4 separate regions of the Homo sapiens genome follow, and regions 1, 2 and 3 are each linked to region 4. The links are contacts of gene promoters, found by promoter capture Hi-C in human tissues and cell types (Jung and others, 2019). All regions are on one chromosome and are shown on one strand. The core of a region is centred on a gene start or on the middle of the fragment in contact, and the rest is flanking DNA. Distances in the headings are between cores, read along the strand shown.

Region 1 (3,941 bases), core at 666-3,165, 600 kb before region 4:
CAAGACTTTGTATCAAAAAGAAAAAAAAGAAATGTAGACAGTTGCATGACAGTTCTAGTATTAATAACATTTATCATCAGTGCTCTTGTTCTTGATGTATACTGATCACCAGGTGATGTCCACTGTTTACCAGAGGAATATCAGACTCTGGAAACATAACGGTAAGAAGCAAAGGAGAGGGGGCAGGTGATTTGTGGAGGATGCTCCAGCTGCCTTTCCCTGTTCTAGAGTAAGGGCAGCTCTAGATGCAGCCCTTGCCCTACGTGAAAGTGCAGGAACACTCCCTGAGAGGCAGGAGTGCTGGTTTCTCGAAGCTGTCATGGTCTCTGTGTTGGTGGTTATGCCTCTTTAGAGGTCTCCTGGAGGAGTGTCCTCATTGAAACTTTCCCTTTAGGCCATCAGGCCTTGGAGACAGGGTTGGCATTTTACACATCTTTAATCCCTGCATGAGATTCACATTTCTTCTTAGGTCAGGGGATGCTGAAGCCTTGGTAAGCTGCAGCCTTTGTCAGTAGTTTTTTTTTTTCCCCACAATTATTCAGGGGGAACCAATGAACTCCATGAGGGTGGGGATTACATCTGTCTACTGTTGTATCTCCAGCACTTAGAATGGTGCTTGGCACCTAAAGGATGCTCAAGTTGTTGAAGGAATTAATATTCCCTCTTTCAACAGCTGAGTGTCATAGCTTGGGTCTAGCCCTGCACAGTCAAGGAAAAATAAATCTGACTGGATTAGGACCTCCAACATCTGGGAAGGATCTGGAGCTGGTCTGCTGAAATGAGCTTAGGGAAAAGTTCGAGGTACTTTCCCTCTTCTCACTTCCTCACTCCGCAATTTATGTGTCCAGTTTGATTGAATGGGATTCTTCTTAGGTGCCTACTAGGATGTGAGTCTCACCATTAACCTAGCCCATTTGGTGATGAACCAGATTTTCTGCATAGCTCCTTTTAGCCTTCTCTTTTCTTCCCAGTGGAGTTGGCCTCAGTGCCCGGAAGCCACAGCTTTGTCCTGTGTCCTGGCTATCCCTGAATCCACAATGGTACCATAATTTTGACAGCAAGTTTCACCAGTACCCATAGACTCCTATGCTGAGGTTCCTGTCTATCAGAATGGATTCCTTAGCTTTGGACTTTTAAATTTTAAGATACTGTCTTCACTTTGGGCATTGCGTCTATTACCAATATGTTTTCTTAGTCCCAGCTTGTCTGTTCTAGGCTTACTTCCGCCTCCCTGCTAGCTCACTGTTTAATTCCCAGCAGATCTGGAGGCTGGGGCTACGTATGGTTTTGAGAAAGGCTCCTCTGCTTGGCACTTCACAAGGACTTCCAGTAATGAGTGGCGAAAAGATAGCGTGACTCTGTTGCTTCAATTTACTCTTATCTGTCCACCTTTTTGGAGTGGGAGTCTGTCATGACTTTCCCTTTCTAAACCACAAAGCTAACATAATATTTCACTTTATTTATTTATTTTTAATTAAAAAAAAATTTTTTTTTTGAGACGGAATCTCGCTCTGCTGCCCATACTGGAGTGCAGTGGCGCAATCTTGGCTCACTGCAGCTTCAACCTCCTGGGCTCAAGCCATCTGCCCACCTCATCCTCCCAAGTAGCTGGGACCACAGGCACACGCCACCACACCTGACTAATTTTTGTATTTTTTGTAGAGATGGGGTTTTGCCATGTTGCCCAGCCTGGTCTCGAACTCCTGAGCTCAAGCAATCTGCTAGCCTTGGCCTCCCAAAGCGTTGAGATTACAGGCATGAGCCACTGTGCCTGGCCTAACATGGCATTTTAAAAAATCATAGTGTTCCTGTGATCTTATTCCCTTGACTAATAATTTATTTAGAGTGGATACATGATCCAGTCTGGCAAATGAGATGGAAGTGGAGCTGACTTGAGAGGGATTCCTTTCCCGAAAAACACACAAAAGCACCAGAGAAAAAAGCTTTCCCCCTCCCCTTTTTCACCAGCTTGAACGGGGGGCATTCCTGGAGCAGCAGGAGCGGCCTCTTCGAAATCTTGAGATGGCACACATGAGGACAAATGCCAATATGCCAAGCACAGCAGGGTGGGAAGAAATCTGAATCCCTGATGGCATCATTTTGCAGTTGAACTGATGCCAGCAACAATCCACCTCTGAATTTATGCTGTGGGAAAAATTACCTATTATTTGTTTAAGCCTGAAGTTGTGTTTTCTTTTATTTGCAAAAGCATGCATTTCTTTTTCTTTTCTTTTTTTTTTTTTTGAGACGGAGACTCACTCTATCCCAGGCTGGAGTGCAATGGCGCGATCTCGGCTCACTGCAACCTCTGCCTCTTGGGTTCAAGCGATTCACCTCCCTCAGCCTCCCGAGTAGAAAAGCATGCCTTTCTAACTTGTAGTTAATTTTCTTCTTTTAACACATCAGTCTGGTCTTATTTCTAGGCTTTATCTCATACGACATTTACTGTGTCCTCACATGCACATACTCCTGGCCCCAACCTCTCTCAGAATTTTATTTTTCCTAGTGTCCTAGCTTTGAGCTGTCTACTTGTTCTTGCCCACCACTGGATGTTCAGCTGCACTTTTCTCTAAAAGGTTTGGTACTCCACTCCAAAAAAAATTATATTTTTAAAATATAGGAAACGATGATATATGGAGGACCTACTATGTGCCAGGCACCACACCACATATGTTACAGACATTACCTCATTCGATCTTCACAATCAGCCCAATGTGGTAGGTATTAGCCTCCTCCTCCACCATCCTTTTATAGCAGAGGAAACATAAGCACAGTAATGTTAGAGAGCTTGCGTAAGGCCTCTCAGCCAGCAATTAGTAGAGCCAGTTTTCATATCCAGGTCTATTGAATTCCCCAAAATGCTCTTGCAATTCAGGGAGCAGGCTTGTATTTGTCAGGTTCTTAATTCCAAGCAAAGTAATGCAATCTAGCCAATTTAAGCAGAAAGGGATTTGTCTTAGTCCATTCTGTGCTGCTATAACAGAATACCACAGACTGGGTAACTTATGAGGAACAGAAATCTATTCTCTCACAGTTCTGGAGCCTAGGACATTCAAGATAAAGGCACCAATGGTTGAGTCTCTGGTTCCATGATGATGCCTTGTTGCTGCATCCTCCAGAGAAGAGGAACGCTGAGTCCTCATGTGGCAGAAGTGCAGGAGAGAGAGAACACACTCCTGCAAGCTTGTTTTATGGCAAAGTTAATCCATTCACCAGGGCAGAGCCCTCATGATTTAACCACCTCTCATTAGGCCCCGCCTCCCAACACTGTTGCATTGGGGATTAAGTTTCAACATGAATTTTGGAGGGGACACAAACATTCAAACCATAGCATTCCGCCCCCCATCCTCCCAAAATATCCTTCTCACATGCAAAATGCATTCATTCCATGCCAGTAGCCCCAAATGTCCTAACTTGTTTCATCATCTACTCAAAAGTCCAGAGTCTCTTGTTACACGGATATGGTTGAGACTCAAGGCATGATTTAACCTGAGGCAAATTCCCCTCTAGCTCATACCTGTGAAATTAAACAAGTCACATGTTTCCAAAATACAATGGAGACAGGCATGGGATAGACACACTTCTTCCAAAAGTGAGAAATAGGAAAGAAGAAAGGGATAACAAGTCCCAAGTAAAAGCCCAAAACCCAACGGGACCAACAACATTAGATTTTAAGGCCTGAGAGCCATCTTCTTTGACTCCATGACAGACCATCTGGACACAATGGGTGAGGGTTGGACTCTCAAAGCTCCTGGTGGCCCTACCCCCATGGCTTTGCTGGGTGCAGCTGTCATGGGTTGGAGTCTTGTGTCTGTGGCTCTCCCAGGCTAGTGTTGCATGCTAATGGCTCTACAGTTCTGATGTCTTAGGAGTGGCCCTGACCCACGACTTTACTAAGCAATGCCCTATTTGGGTATCTTTGCAGTGACCCCCAATCCCAC
Region 2 (4,229 bases), core at 1,051-3,550, 630 kb before region 4:
TCTTGAACTCTTGAGCTGAAGCCATCCAACTGCCTCGGCCTCCCAAAGCGCTGGGATTACAGGCGTGAGCCACCGCACCAAGCCTGTTTCGTGTTTTGTTTTTTAAGACAGGGTCTTACTATGTCACCCAGGCTTGAGGGCAGTGGCGTGATCATGGCTTACTGCAGCTTTGACCTCCCAGGCTCCAGTGATCCTCCCACCTCAGCCTTCTGAGTAGCTGGACTACACACGTGCTCCACCACACCCAGCTAATTTTTGTTCTTTTTTTTTTGAGACAGAGTCTCGCCCTGTCACCCAGGCTGGAGTGCAGTGGTGCAATCTCAGCTCACTGCAACCTCTGCCTCCTGGGCTCAAGCGATTCTCTTACCTCAGCCTCCAGAGTAGCTGGGACTACAAGCTCAGGCCACCACACCCAACTAATTATTTTTATTTTTATTTTTATTTTTTGAGACAGAGTCTCACTCTGTCACCCAGGCTGGAGTGCAGTGGCAACCTCCTCCTCCTGGGTTCAAGCAATTCTCCTGCCTCAGCCTCCTGAGTAACAGGGAATACAGGTGCCCACCACCACGCCTGGCTAATTTTGTATTTTTAGTACAGATGGGGTTTTACCGTGTTGGTCAGGCTGGTCTTGAACTTCTGACCTCAGGTGATCCACCTACCTCAACCTCCCAAAATTCTGGGATTATAGGCGTGAGCCACCACTCCTGGCCAATTTTTTGTATTTTTAGTAAAGATGGGGTTTCACCATGTTGGCCAGGCTGGTCGTGAACTCCTGATCTCAGGTAATCCACCCACCTTGGCCTCCCAAAGTGCTGGGATTACAGGCATGAGCCACTGCACCCAGCCTTAATTTTTGTATTTTTTGTATAGACAGGGTCTCACTATGTTGCTCAGGCTTATTTCAAACACCTGGGTTCAAGTGATCCTCTGGCCTCAGCCTCCCAAAATGCTGGGATTATAGGCGTGAGCCACTGTGCCCAGCCCCTTTTGTTGATCGCGCCACAATTTTCCAAAACGTTCATAGGGACTCTATATTAGCTTTCTAGAGCTGCCATAACAAAGCACCACAAACTGGGTGGGTTAAAAAAACAGAAAATGTATTATCTTACAGTTCTGGAAGTCAGAGGTCCAAAATCAAGGTCTTGGCAGGGCCATGCTCCTTCTGAAGGCTCCAGGGAAGAAATCTGTTCCATGCCTTACTTTTAGCTTCTGGTGTTGCCAGTAAATGCTTGTTGATACAGCACTTTAATCACTGTCTCCATTGCCTCATAGCATTCTTCCTGGGTCTGTCTCCGTGTCTCTTCTCTGCTTCTCATAAGGACAGCAGTCATATTGGATTGAGTCCATACTACTTAATATAGTTTGAATATTTGTCCCCTCCAAATCTCAAATTGAAATGTGACCCCCAGTGTTGGAAGTGGGGCCTAGTAGGAGATGTTTGGGTCATGGGGACAGATCCCTCATGAATGGCTTGATGCCCTCCTTACAGTAATGAATGAGTTCTTGCTCTATTAGTTAATGTGCAATCTGATTGTTAAAATCTCTCGCCATGTGACACACTGGCTCTCCTTGCCTTCCACCATGATTGGAAGCTTCCTGAGGCTTCCCCAGAAACAGACACTGGCACCTTGTTCTGTTAGAAATAAAAGCTCAGAGTCGTAAAGAAAATGAGCACTCAAACACAAGATTTCTCAGCAAGGCAAATTTTCTTCTGCAGAAGGGTGCAGCTTGCGCCAGTCATTATCGCAAGAGCACACCGAGCAGGGTAGGAAAGGGGTTTTTATCTCTAATGCAGTTCCTAGCACTTCTGTGTCCTTTCCCCATTGGCTGGGGTTGGACCTCACAATCTAAGCTAACTCGATTGGCTAAGGTTTAAAATTGAATAGGGTCTATTAGGTGAAGAGTCCGTTACTAGGTGGGAAAAGAGTCTGTTACTAGGCGGGAAGGCATATCTGGACTTGTCTGGGCATGGCAAAGGCAGGAAGGTTGTTTACAGAACAGGTAGCTAGGAGACAAGGAAGTACAAGGAAGTTGGTTTTAAGAAACAAAGAACAGGGAACGAAAGCTTTTTGAAGAGGAATTTATCATCTCTGACACTTCTTGTACAGTCTGCAGAACTGTGAGGCAATTAAACTTCTTTTCTTTGTAAATTACCCAGCCTTAGCTATTCCTTTATACAATGCAAAATGGACCAAATATAGTACTCAAGTATAACCTCATTCTAACTTAAATCTTAATTACATCTGCAAAGACTATTTCCAAGTAAGGTCACATTCACAGGTACCAGGGGTTAGGACTTCAACACATCCTTTGGGGCAGATACAATGTTGAGGATTGCCTCAACAGACTCTGAAGAAATAGCAATAATATTTGGAATAAAAGGCCTTTCTTGCATTTCATTTTTTGAAAAATATTGTATCATGTTTAGGATGTAAAAATTTTGTGACTTTTCTATAGAATTGTTAGCCAGAAATGTTATATTGAGAGATACATATGTTCTATGAAGTTTGAGTTTTAAAAATGAAGAGAAGGCTGGGCATGCCTGTAATCCTAGCATTTTAGGAAGCCAAGGCAGACAGTTTGCTTGAGCCCAGGAGTTCAAGACCAGCCTGGGCAACATAGCAAAATCCTATCTCTACAAAAAATAAACATTTAGCTGGGGCCGGGCACAGTGGCTCATGCCTGTAATCCCAGCACTTTGGGAGGCCAATGCAGGCAGATCACCTGAGGTCAGGAGTTTGAGACCAGCCTGGCCAACATGGCAAAACCCTGTCTCTACTAAAAATATAAAAATTAACTGTGTATGGTGGCGTGCACCTGTAATCCCAGCTACTTGGGAAGCTGAGGTAGGAGAATCATTTGAGCCCGGGAGGCAGAGGCTGCAATGAGCCGAGATTGGGTCACTGCATTCCAGCCTGGGAGACAGAGTGAGACTCAGTCTCAATAATAATAATAATAATAATAATAATAATAATAATAATAATAAAACTAGCTGGGTGTGGTGGCCTTTGCCTGTAGTCTCAGCTACTCAGGAGACTGAGGTGGGAGGATCATTTGAGCTTGGGAGGATGAGGCTGCAGTGAGCCATGATTGAGCCACTGCACTCTGCACTCCAGCCTGGGCAATAGAGCAAGACTGTCTTAAAAAAAAAAAAAAAGAGGTATTTCTCTTTTAGGGGAGAAGGTTTACCTGGGAGGCATTATGCAGGGTGAGCAGTAATCTATCTGGAGGACACACTTGGGTTTGGTGAAGGTGACACTTCTTCAAAGAGAAATCGAGGGTTGTGTCAAAGACAAAACCCAGAGAAGTAGGCAGATTGATTAAAGAACACTTGAGAGGCAAAGATCAGAGGATCTCAGCAGGGTGCTTTTGCCCTAGACTTATATAGAGAGGAGTAAACAAGCTGAAGTGGGGTGATATGCAGTTGGGGTTGTTTTGTATGCAGAACTGTCTGTCACTTAGCTGAACCAGAAATATTATTCTCAGGGAAACAAATTGTTCTAATCTTAGCTAGTCAACTACAGCAAAGAATGGGAAATTGGAGGATTTGTGTTTGGCCTTGTTGCAGATGAACAAGGGAGCCAACCCTGAGAACCGTGGGGTCACAAGAGAGTGGACGGTGAGTTGTACCTATGTCCTATGCAGAAGGATGGTTCTCTGAGCAAGTCTTCTCCAAGAACACAAAAGAATGGGGGATTTTGAAAAACAAAAGGTGGTGGAGGATGGGGGTTGCATGGGGTTCAGGTTGGGGGTGGGGGTACTGGGGGTGCAGGGTGCTTTATCATCGCTGCTTTCTTTTCTTTTTAAATAAATACATTTTCTTTCTGTCTTCTTTATTTTATTTTATTTTATTTTATTTTTTTGAGACAGGGTCTCACTCTGTCGCCCAGGCTGGAGTGCAGTGGCACAATCTCAGCTCACTGCAAGCTCCACCTCCTGGGTTCACACCATTCTCTTGCCTCAGCCTCCCCAGCAGCTGGGACCACAGGTGCCCGCCACCATGCCTGGCTAATTTCTTTTGTATTTTTAGTAGAGACGGGGTTTCACTGTGTTAGCCAGGATGGTCTCGATCTCCTGACCTCGTGATCTGCCCACCTCAGCCTCCCAAAGTGCTGAGATTACAGGCGTGAGCCACCATGCCTGGCCTCTTTCTGTCTTTATTTTATTTTACTTAAATTTTTTTGATTTTGTTTTTGTTTTGTTTTGGAGTTTTTTGCTCTTGTTGCCAG
Region 3 (3,908 bases), core at 386-2,885, 710 kb before region 4:
CACGACAAACCAAAGGAGCGGGACATGGGAATCCCAGTTTACAGCTGGTCGGTCGGAAGCACAGGTAAAATAACCTGGGACTTGGTGTTGGCATCAGAAGTGGGGGGCAGTCTCGGCTGGGCGCAGTGGCTCACGCCTGTAATCCCAGCACTTTGGGAGGCCGAGGTGGGTGGATCACGAGGTCAGGAGATCGAGACCATCCTGGCTAACATGGTGAAACCCTGTCTCTACTAAAAATACAAAAAATTAGCCAGGCGTGGTGGTGGGCACCGGTAGTTCCAGCTACTCAGGAGGCTGAGGCAGGAGAATGGCGTGAACCTGGGAGGCGGAGCTCGCAGTGAGCCAAGATGGTGCCACTGCACTCCAGCCTGGGTGACAGAGTGAGACTCCGTCTCAAAAAAAAAAAAAAAAAAAAGTGGGGGCAGTCTTGCAGGACTGAGCCCTAAACTGATGAGATCTGACACTATCTTCATATAGATAGTCTTGGAATTAAAATGAATTAGAGGACACCCACCTGGTGTGTACACTGCAGAACTGATTGCTTGTTATGTGGGGTGAGACACCCACACATCTGGTGTCAGAAGTGTGAGAAAGTTTATTCCTACATTCTCAGAATTGTTTATATAAAAATGTTATTTTTTATATAATTACATTTACCTCTAATGTTTTACTTTTTGTTTTTATGTCTCGTCTTTTTATTCCTTTCTTATTCCTTAGTGGGGTTTATTTTGCATAAATGAGTATTTTCTAATGTAGCATTTTAATTTCTCTTTGTTTTTTCTGTTTTTAATTTCTTTAACGATATTTTCACTGTATTTTTTGTAACTTCATGGAAGCACAAATTCTTTTTAAAAGTATTTTTTATATTAAACTATCAGTGATGGAGGCTGGCAGAGATCTTGGGGCGAGAATTTATTCTCTCAGAGAAATGGTAGTGATGGACCATGGAAACTTGTCTATGGTAATCTGTGTTAGAATATATTCTTGAAAGTTCTAAGAATACATTATATCCACAAGTAGATTATGCCATCCTAGAGACTGCAGCTGACCCTTGAACAATGTGAGTTTGACCCATGTGGATCCACATACACATGGATTTGACTTTTTTTTTTTTAAGAGATGAGGTCACTCTCTGTTGCCCAGGCTGGAGTGCAGTGTACAGTCATAGCACATTACAGCCTCAAACATCTGGGCTCAAACAGTCCTCCCATCTCTGCCTCCTGAGTATCTGGGACTGCATCCACACACTACCTTGTCTGGCTACACTTGGAGTTTCTTCTGCATCTGCCACTCTACTGCCACCCTAAGTCGTAATCCCTATGTTGTTCAAGGGTCGATTGTATTTTCCTTTCACAGTCTATTTGTGTAGCTAGTAGGCAATCTTCCAAAAACTTCAATTTAGGTCGTTCCGGAGTGCTTTTCGAGTTTTCAGTTTTCTTCTATGCCAGTGAAGGAGAGGGATGGAGGAAAAAAAAAAAACCAAATTAACATAAAGATAGTTTCCCTTCCTACCCATATGCTCTGTATTAATTGCTAGGGCTGTGTTTGAGATAGGAAAACCAAAACTTCTTCACACAACTGACCACTTCATCTCTGGTCACCAGAATGTATTTGGATTTCTTCCCATCCGCAAACTGTTTTCCAGCTGACAACAACTGGGTGTCCTACAATTCAATTACATGTTGGCATCATCTACCTGGAGAAAGCTTCAGATCCCACAGGTTGAGGACTCAGTCCCACAAGACTGCCCCTGACTTCGCCAGACCTGTACTTTTGACCAACCTGTTACAAAGAGGGGATTGTCAAGACTCCCTCCGTGGATTTGATTAATTTGCTAGAGCTCACAGAACTCAGGGAAATAGTTTACTTATTATAAAGCCTATTAGATGAAGAGCCAGGTGGAAGAGATGCATGGGGGAATGCATATGTGAGCGCTTCCATGCCCTCTCCAGGTGCTGCCCCACCCTACGGTCACCTCTATGTTACCAGACACTCCTGTTACTCAGGAGATTACAAAGGTCTCAGGAGCTCTGTGTCAGGAACCGGGTTCAAAGACCACGTATTAGTGCAAAAGATTGTATACCCCAATCTACAAGAGTTTTAGGTGCCCCGTGTCTGGAATCATGGGCAGAGACCAAGTATGTATTTCTTATCGTGGGCTACTATGACAGTAATGCCACAGACTGGGTGGAGAAATTTATTTCTCCCAGTTCCGGCGGCTAGAAGTCCAGGGTCAATATGTTTGATTTCTGTTCTCTTGAAGCTTCTCTCTCAGTGGCTTGCAGGTGACTGTCTTCTTGCTGTGTCCTAACGTGGTCCTTCCTCTGTGGGCCGACATCGCTGGTGTCCCTCTTCCTATGGGGGATACTAGTCGGATTAGAGCCCCACTCTAATGACCTCACTTAACCAATTATCTCCTTAAAGGCCCTATCTCCAAATACACTGAGGGTCAGGGCTTTCACTTATGAATTTTGGGGAGGGTACAATTCAGTTCATGAGACTCTCTCCTCCAAGTTGACGTAAAAGCCAGGGGACAGTGAGGGGGACGGGCAGTTATGAAGCATCATTAATTCTCCTTAGAAGTGCTGCTTTTCTTCTGTCAGTGAACACTGTGACCCATTCTGCTTCCAACCTTGTGGACTAGTCAAAGTAGTGAGAGGAACAGAGTCCTAACGCCTGAGAGTTGTAAAATGAGTGTCAGCATGTGGTGGCTGCCTTTTTTTTTTTTTTTTAACGGATAGACTTTATTTTCTAGAAGAGTTTTAGGTTTAAAGAAAATTGAGGTCAGGCATGGTGGTTCACGCCTGTAATCCCAGCACTTTGGGAGGCCAAGGCAGGCAGATCATGAGGTCAGGAGTTTGAGACCATCTTGGCCAACATGGTGAAACCCCATCTCTAGCAAAAATATAAAAAATGAGTCAGGCATGGTGGCGCGCGCCTGTAGTCCCAGCTACTCGGGAGGCTGAGGCAGGAGAATTGCTTGAACCCGGGAGGTGGAGGTTGCAGATCGTGCCACTGCACTCCAGCCTGGGCGACAGAGCGAGACTCCATCTGAAAAAAAAAGAAAAAGAAAACTGAGCTTATAGTACAGAGCATTCCCATATAAGAGCTTTATAGGAACCTCCCATCTCCAAAACTCTAAGGTTCCACTATTAGCAACTTGGATTAGTCATACTGATATGTTATTATTAAAGTCCATCACTAACATTAGAGTTTACTCTGTATCCAATGGGTCTTACGGGTTTTGATAAATGCTTAATAGTATGCATCTACTATTATAAGAGAGCTTTAAAAAATAACTTTATGAAATCAAAACATACCTAAGAAAGGGTACAAATGGTAAGTGTATAATGCAGTGGATTATGTAGGGAACACACTTGTGTGTAAGTATCACCCTGGTCAAAAGCAGTCTTCATGCTACTTAACTACCAATTGCTATTCCATCACACTTTGTAAAAAGTACCACTACAGTCCCTAGATGGTTGGTTTTGTCTGTGTTTCAATCTTTATATAAATGGAATCATGGATTATTCTTTAATCTCTGGCCTTTTTCACTCAGTCTTGTGTTTGTTAGATTCATGTTGCATATAGCCTTTTATTTTTGTTACTATAGTGTTTCATTAATATGAATACATTTCTATTTTGTTTGTTTCCAGTTTTTGCTTACTGCACCTAATGCTGCTGGCAGTGTTATAATTATGCATTTCTGTTTGGTACATACCTAGGAATGAAACTTCTAGGTCTCAGGGCTTGCATTTATTAACCCTTGGTAGATGATGCCATACGTCTTTCCAAAGTGTTGGTTACTTTAAGGATCATGATATACTCCTATCACCATTGTAGGAGAGTTCCATTTGTTCCATTTTCTTGCCAACATGTGGTATTGAGAGTTGAAAAAATTCTAGCCA
Region 4 (4,110 bases), core at 1,589-4,088:
TGCCTCAGCCTCCCGAGTAGCTGGGATTACAGGCGTGCACCATCACGCCCAGCTAATTTTTGTATTTTTAGTAGAGATGGGGTTTCTCCATGTTGGTCAGGCTGGTCTTGAACTCCCGACATCAGGTGATATGCCCACCTTGGCCTCCTGAAGTACTGGGATTACAGGCATGAGCCACCGTGCCCGGCCTTCTGTTTTCTTTAGAAGAAAACAAAAGCTCCATCAACAGAGGGGTGAGAAGCAAAGTGGGTAATATCTGACTATTATGTAATATTATCTTTGGTAGAAAGTCAAGAGACTTGGAATAAAACTGTTTTTTGGAGTTCTGAAATTTTTGTCTTATTTTATCTCTGAAAAATTTTTTTTTTGAAAATAATCAAAGAGGAGATGTTCACAAAACCTGTCAAGATGCCAAAACACCACTAATGGATCTTTAGGTCTTGGCTTACTTCATCCATTTGTTCACAGATATTTATTAAGCACCTGCCATTTGTCCTGCTGAACAAATCAAGCATGTTCCCCGCAGCCATTGTGTACAGCTAAGCAGGTGAATGGCACCCACTGGAGTTGCGTAGTGCACAACTTCCACTACTGCTGGTGGTTCTTGTCCTCATGGAGATTAAATTTAGTAACTTCTAGGAAGTCTTTCTCGAATCTCTATCCTCTTGCTCAGACTGGAAAAAGTGCTCTTATTATGTTTTCTTTTCTCTTTTCTCTTTTTTTTTTTTTGACACAGGGCCTCACTCTGTCACTTAGGCTGGAGTGCGGTGGCACGATCACAGTTCACTGCAGTCCCCACCTCCCAAGCTTAGGTGATCCTCCTACTGCAGCCTCCCAAGTAGTTGGGGCCACAGGTATGCACCACCACGACAGGCAAGCTAATTTTTTTGTATTTTTTGTAGAGACTGGGTTTTGCCGTGTTGCCCAGGCTGGCCTTGAACTCCTGACCTCAAGTGATCTGCCCGTCTCCTGCCTCAGCCTCCTGAGTAGCTGGGATTACAGGAATGCACCACCACGCCCGGTTAATTTTTGTATTTTTAGTAGAGACGGGGTTTCTCCATGTTGGTCAGGCTGGTCTTGAACTCCTGACCTCAAGTGATCCGCCTGCCTTGGCCTCCCAAAGTGCTGGAATTACAGGCGTGAGCCACGGTGCCTGGCCTCTCCTCACCTGCTTTAATTCTTTACTCAAATGTCACCTTTTTACTTTGAGGTTTACTTTTACCTTTGGAGGTTTGGAGTAGAGGAGGGATACTATCTGTCTAAAAAGAAAAACAACATTTAGAAATATAACAGTATGGGCCGGGCATGGTGGCTCAGGCCTGTAATCCCAGGACTGTGGGAGGCCAAGATGGGCGGATCACTTGAGGTCAGGAGTTCGAGACCAGCCTGGCTAACATGGTGAAACCCCGCCCCCCACCCGTCTCTACTAAAAATACAAAAATTTTCCCAGGGTGGTGGCGGGTGCCTGTAATAACAGCTACTTGGGGGGCTGAGGCAGGAGAATCACTTCAGCCTGGGAGGAGGAGGCTGCAGTGAGCCGAGATTGCGCCACTGCATTCCAGCCTGGGCGACAGAGTCAGACTCTGTCTCAAAAAAAAAAAAGAACGGTATGAGCAAAGAGTGAGTAAGGCAGTTATCAGATGTCTACTTTGCCAGGAATCAGGCTACAGCAAATAAAGGTTTATACATAATATTGATAATAAATGCCCAGCTCTTCCCCTGTAAAACTCCAATACTCTAAGATTTTTTTCATGAACACCGCCCCCCGCTGCTCCGACCCCTGCTTTTTTATTTATTTATTTATTTATTTGGTAGAGATGAGGTCTCACTATGTTGACCAGGCTGGTCTCGAACTCCCAGCTCAAGCGATCCTCCTGCTTCTGCTTCCTAAAGTGCTGGGATTACACCGCGCTCGGTCCTGAACACACATTTTGTTTGTTTGTTTGTTTGTTTACAAAACCCCTGGAGAACCCGCGTATTCTAACCTGGGCTGGTTTTTGTATTTTTGCAAAATAACACCCCACACATTCTCGTATCAGCGTGCAGATTTTTTTGCACCCAGTTTGGTTGTTTGCGGCCATAAGCTTTTCTTTAAGCCTTTCCAACCCGTCCTTCTAGAGAAAGTGTCTTCATAAGGAAGTCACACTGCTCACGCCTGTAATCCCAACACTTTGGGAGGCCGAGGCGGGTGGATCACTAGGTCCGGAGATCGAGACCATCCTGGAAAACACAGTGAAACCCCGTCTCTACTAAAAATACAAAAAATTAGCCGGGCGTAGTGGTGGGTGCCTGTAGTCCCAGCTACTCCGAAGGCTGAGGCAGGAGAATGGCGTGAACCCGGGAGGCGGAATTTGCAGTGGGCCGAGATCGCGCCACTGCACTCCAGCCTGGGCGACAGAGTGAGACTCCGTCTCAAAAAAAAAAAAAAAATAAATAAATAAAAAATAAATAAAAGGAAGTGACACTGGATAATTAAGAGACACACCATTGCGCCTTTAACACATATTCACACCCAGCACTGTCACATCCATCGTGCCTTGAGGACAGGCATAAATTTACGGCCTTCCTCCTGCGCTCCCGGCCTGCTCCTAGCCTTTGACTAGAGCCTGCGCAGCATCCCAGTCCCAGGCTAGGGCCCACCGGTGCCGCGCAGCCTCCTGGAAGCTGTGGGGAGTAGCGTTCCTCCGCTCCAGAACTACAACTCCCAGCAGGCCTTGCTCCTCTCCACCTCCCTCGCAGCGCATGGCCTGCCGGGAGGGGGCAGGTAGCCGGCGGGCCCGGTCCAATGGGTGCCGGCTTCCGAGGAGAGGGCGGAGGAGAGGAGGAAGGAGGCGAACTGTGGGCCCCGGCCCCATTCATTGCCGTGGCCGGCGGGCACTGGGGCCCCGTGTTTTCAGAGTCATGGAGGCGCTAATTCCTGTCATAAACAAGCTCCAGGACGTCTTCAACACGGTGGGCGCCGACATCATCCAGCTGCCTCAAATCGTCGTAGTGGGAACGCAGGTGAGAGCAGCAGGCGGCGTTCGCTCGGGCCAGACCCCGGCCGCAGGCCTGGTCGGTGCTGCGGCAGTGCCCACTCCCGCGCCAGCGCCCACTCCCGCGCCAGCCTTTGGGGCCTGTGGGAGGAGGGCCTTGCTGGGGGCCCCAGGGCTCTCCGGGCTCTGCCGCACCCGCCCTCCCGGGGCAGCGTTGCATCAAGGCGGAGAATCCGGGGCCCGGCCAGGGGCGGAGCCGGCGCGGCGGGCCTGGCTAGCCCGGCGGGTCCCGGGGACAGGAGAGGGAAGGATGGGGCCGGCGGGCGGAACTGGAGTCCGCTGGGACCGGGCGCGGCCTCGTCCGCGTGCCGCTGCCTCCAAGGGCACCTGGGGGACGCGCGGGGCACTCGGGTCTCGCTGGGCTCGGTGGGCTGGCTGTTCCCATCACTGTTGGCTTTCGTGAGACGGGTGTTTTATTTCCCTCCTTGCCTTGCCCAGGGACTGCGGAGTTAGTTTTGGAATCGCTCTGTTGAGGCTGAGAGACGCTACGGTGCGTGAGCGCCAGTGTTTTCCTGCAGTATAATTCCACCAGGTTTCGAGAACGCCGAAGCAGCATTTTAAAAAAAGAAAAACAAAACGTGTATCTAGAGTTCTGCGGGTGTTGGGAAGGAATATCCGATTTTTCTGCGTAGGCTGTGCTTTTTGTCTTCCACAGTTTTGTGATCGTGACCTAAATTGGGCATCAGTTTCTCTGGTCTTCTCATAGCTAACTCATTTTTTTTTGAATGCAGAAATGTTGGCAAAATAACTGTTATTTCTAGAGTGACAGAGGAGAAGTATAATTTTCCTTTTCTCTGCTACTTCGATTAGAGTTCAGAGAAACGGATTTTAGAAATTAGTATATTGATATTAAGTGCTTTCATTTCTTAATAGTATCTTTTCTATTGAGAAGGAGCGGTTTCCCCATCATTTTCCAGGAGGTACATAGTATAGGGTATAAGTGCTATCAGAAGGAACTTACTGTTCAAAGTATTAGTGGCTATCCAAACACTGGAAACTATAGACACCCTGTACTCGTTTGTTTGTTTGTTTGTTTTTTTGGCTTTTAAATAGTTGAAGCAATAGAAATTGTTTT

The links. The method cuts DNA at HindIII sites, captures the fragments that hold promoters and counts their contacts. A contact is called where the count stands out against the background at its distance.
Region 1: a contact is called between a fragment that was not itself captured here and the fragment with the promoter of DNM1L in region 4, in 1 of the 25 tissues and cell types used here (lymphoblastoid cells).
Region 2: a contact is called between a fragment that was not itself captured here and the fragment with the promoter of DNM1L in region 4, in 1 of the 25 tissues and cell types used here (thymus).
Region 3: a contact is called between a fragment that was not itself captured here and the fragment with the promoter of DNM1L in region 4, in 1 of the 25 tissues and cell types used here (spleen).

Annotation. Positions count from the first base shown.
Region 1 is chr12:32,075,099-32,079,039 of GRCh38, forward strand. No RefSeq gene overlaps it. Among named protein-coding and RNA genes, the nearest start is that of BICD1, 30 kb to the right of the region's middle. RefSeq lists a silencer at 1,244-1,444. The HindIII fragment of the contact is 3,631 bases long and covers 101-3,731 here.
Region 2 is chr12:32,042,412-32,046,640 of GRCh38, forward strand. No RefSeq gene overlaps it. Among named protein-coding and RNA genes, the nearest start is that of BICD1, 62 kb to the right of the region's middle. RefSeq lists a silencer at 1,451-1,651. The HindIII fragment of the contact is 5,154 bases long and covers 1-4,229 here.
Region 3 is chr12:31,972,211-31,976,118 of GRCh38, forward strand. All of the region lies in intron 3 of RESF1 (retroelement silencing factor 1), which reads left to right. Among named protein-coding and RNA genes, the nearest start is that of RESF1, 15 kb to the left of the region's middle. The HindIII fragment of the contact is 3,191 bases long and covers 41-3,231 here.
Region 4 is chr12:32,676,463-32,680,572 of GRCh38, forward strand. DNM1L (dynamin 1 like) reads left to right here and starts at 2,839. Exons shown (of 20, transcript NM_012062.5): 1 at 2,839-3,003. The coding sequence starts at 2,902. RefSeq lists a silencer at 2,987-3,396. The HindIII fragment of the contact is 15,512 bases long and covers 1,446-4,110 here.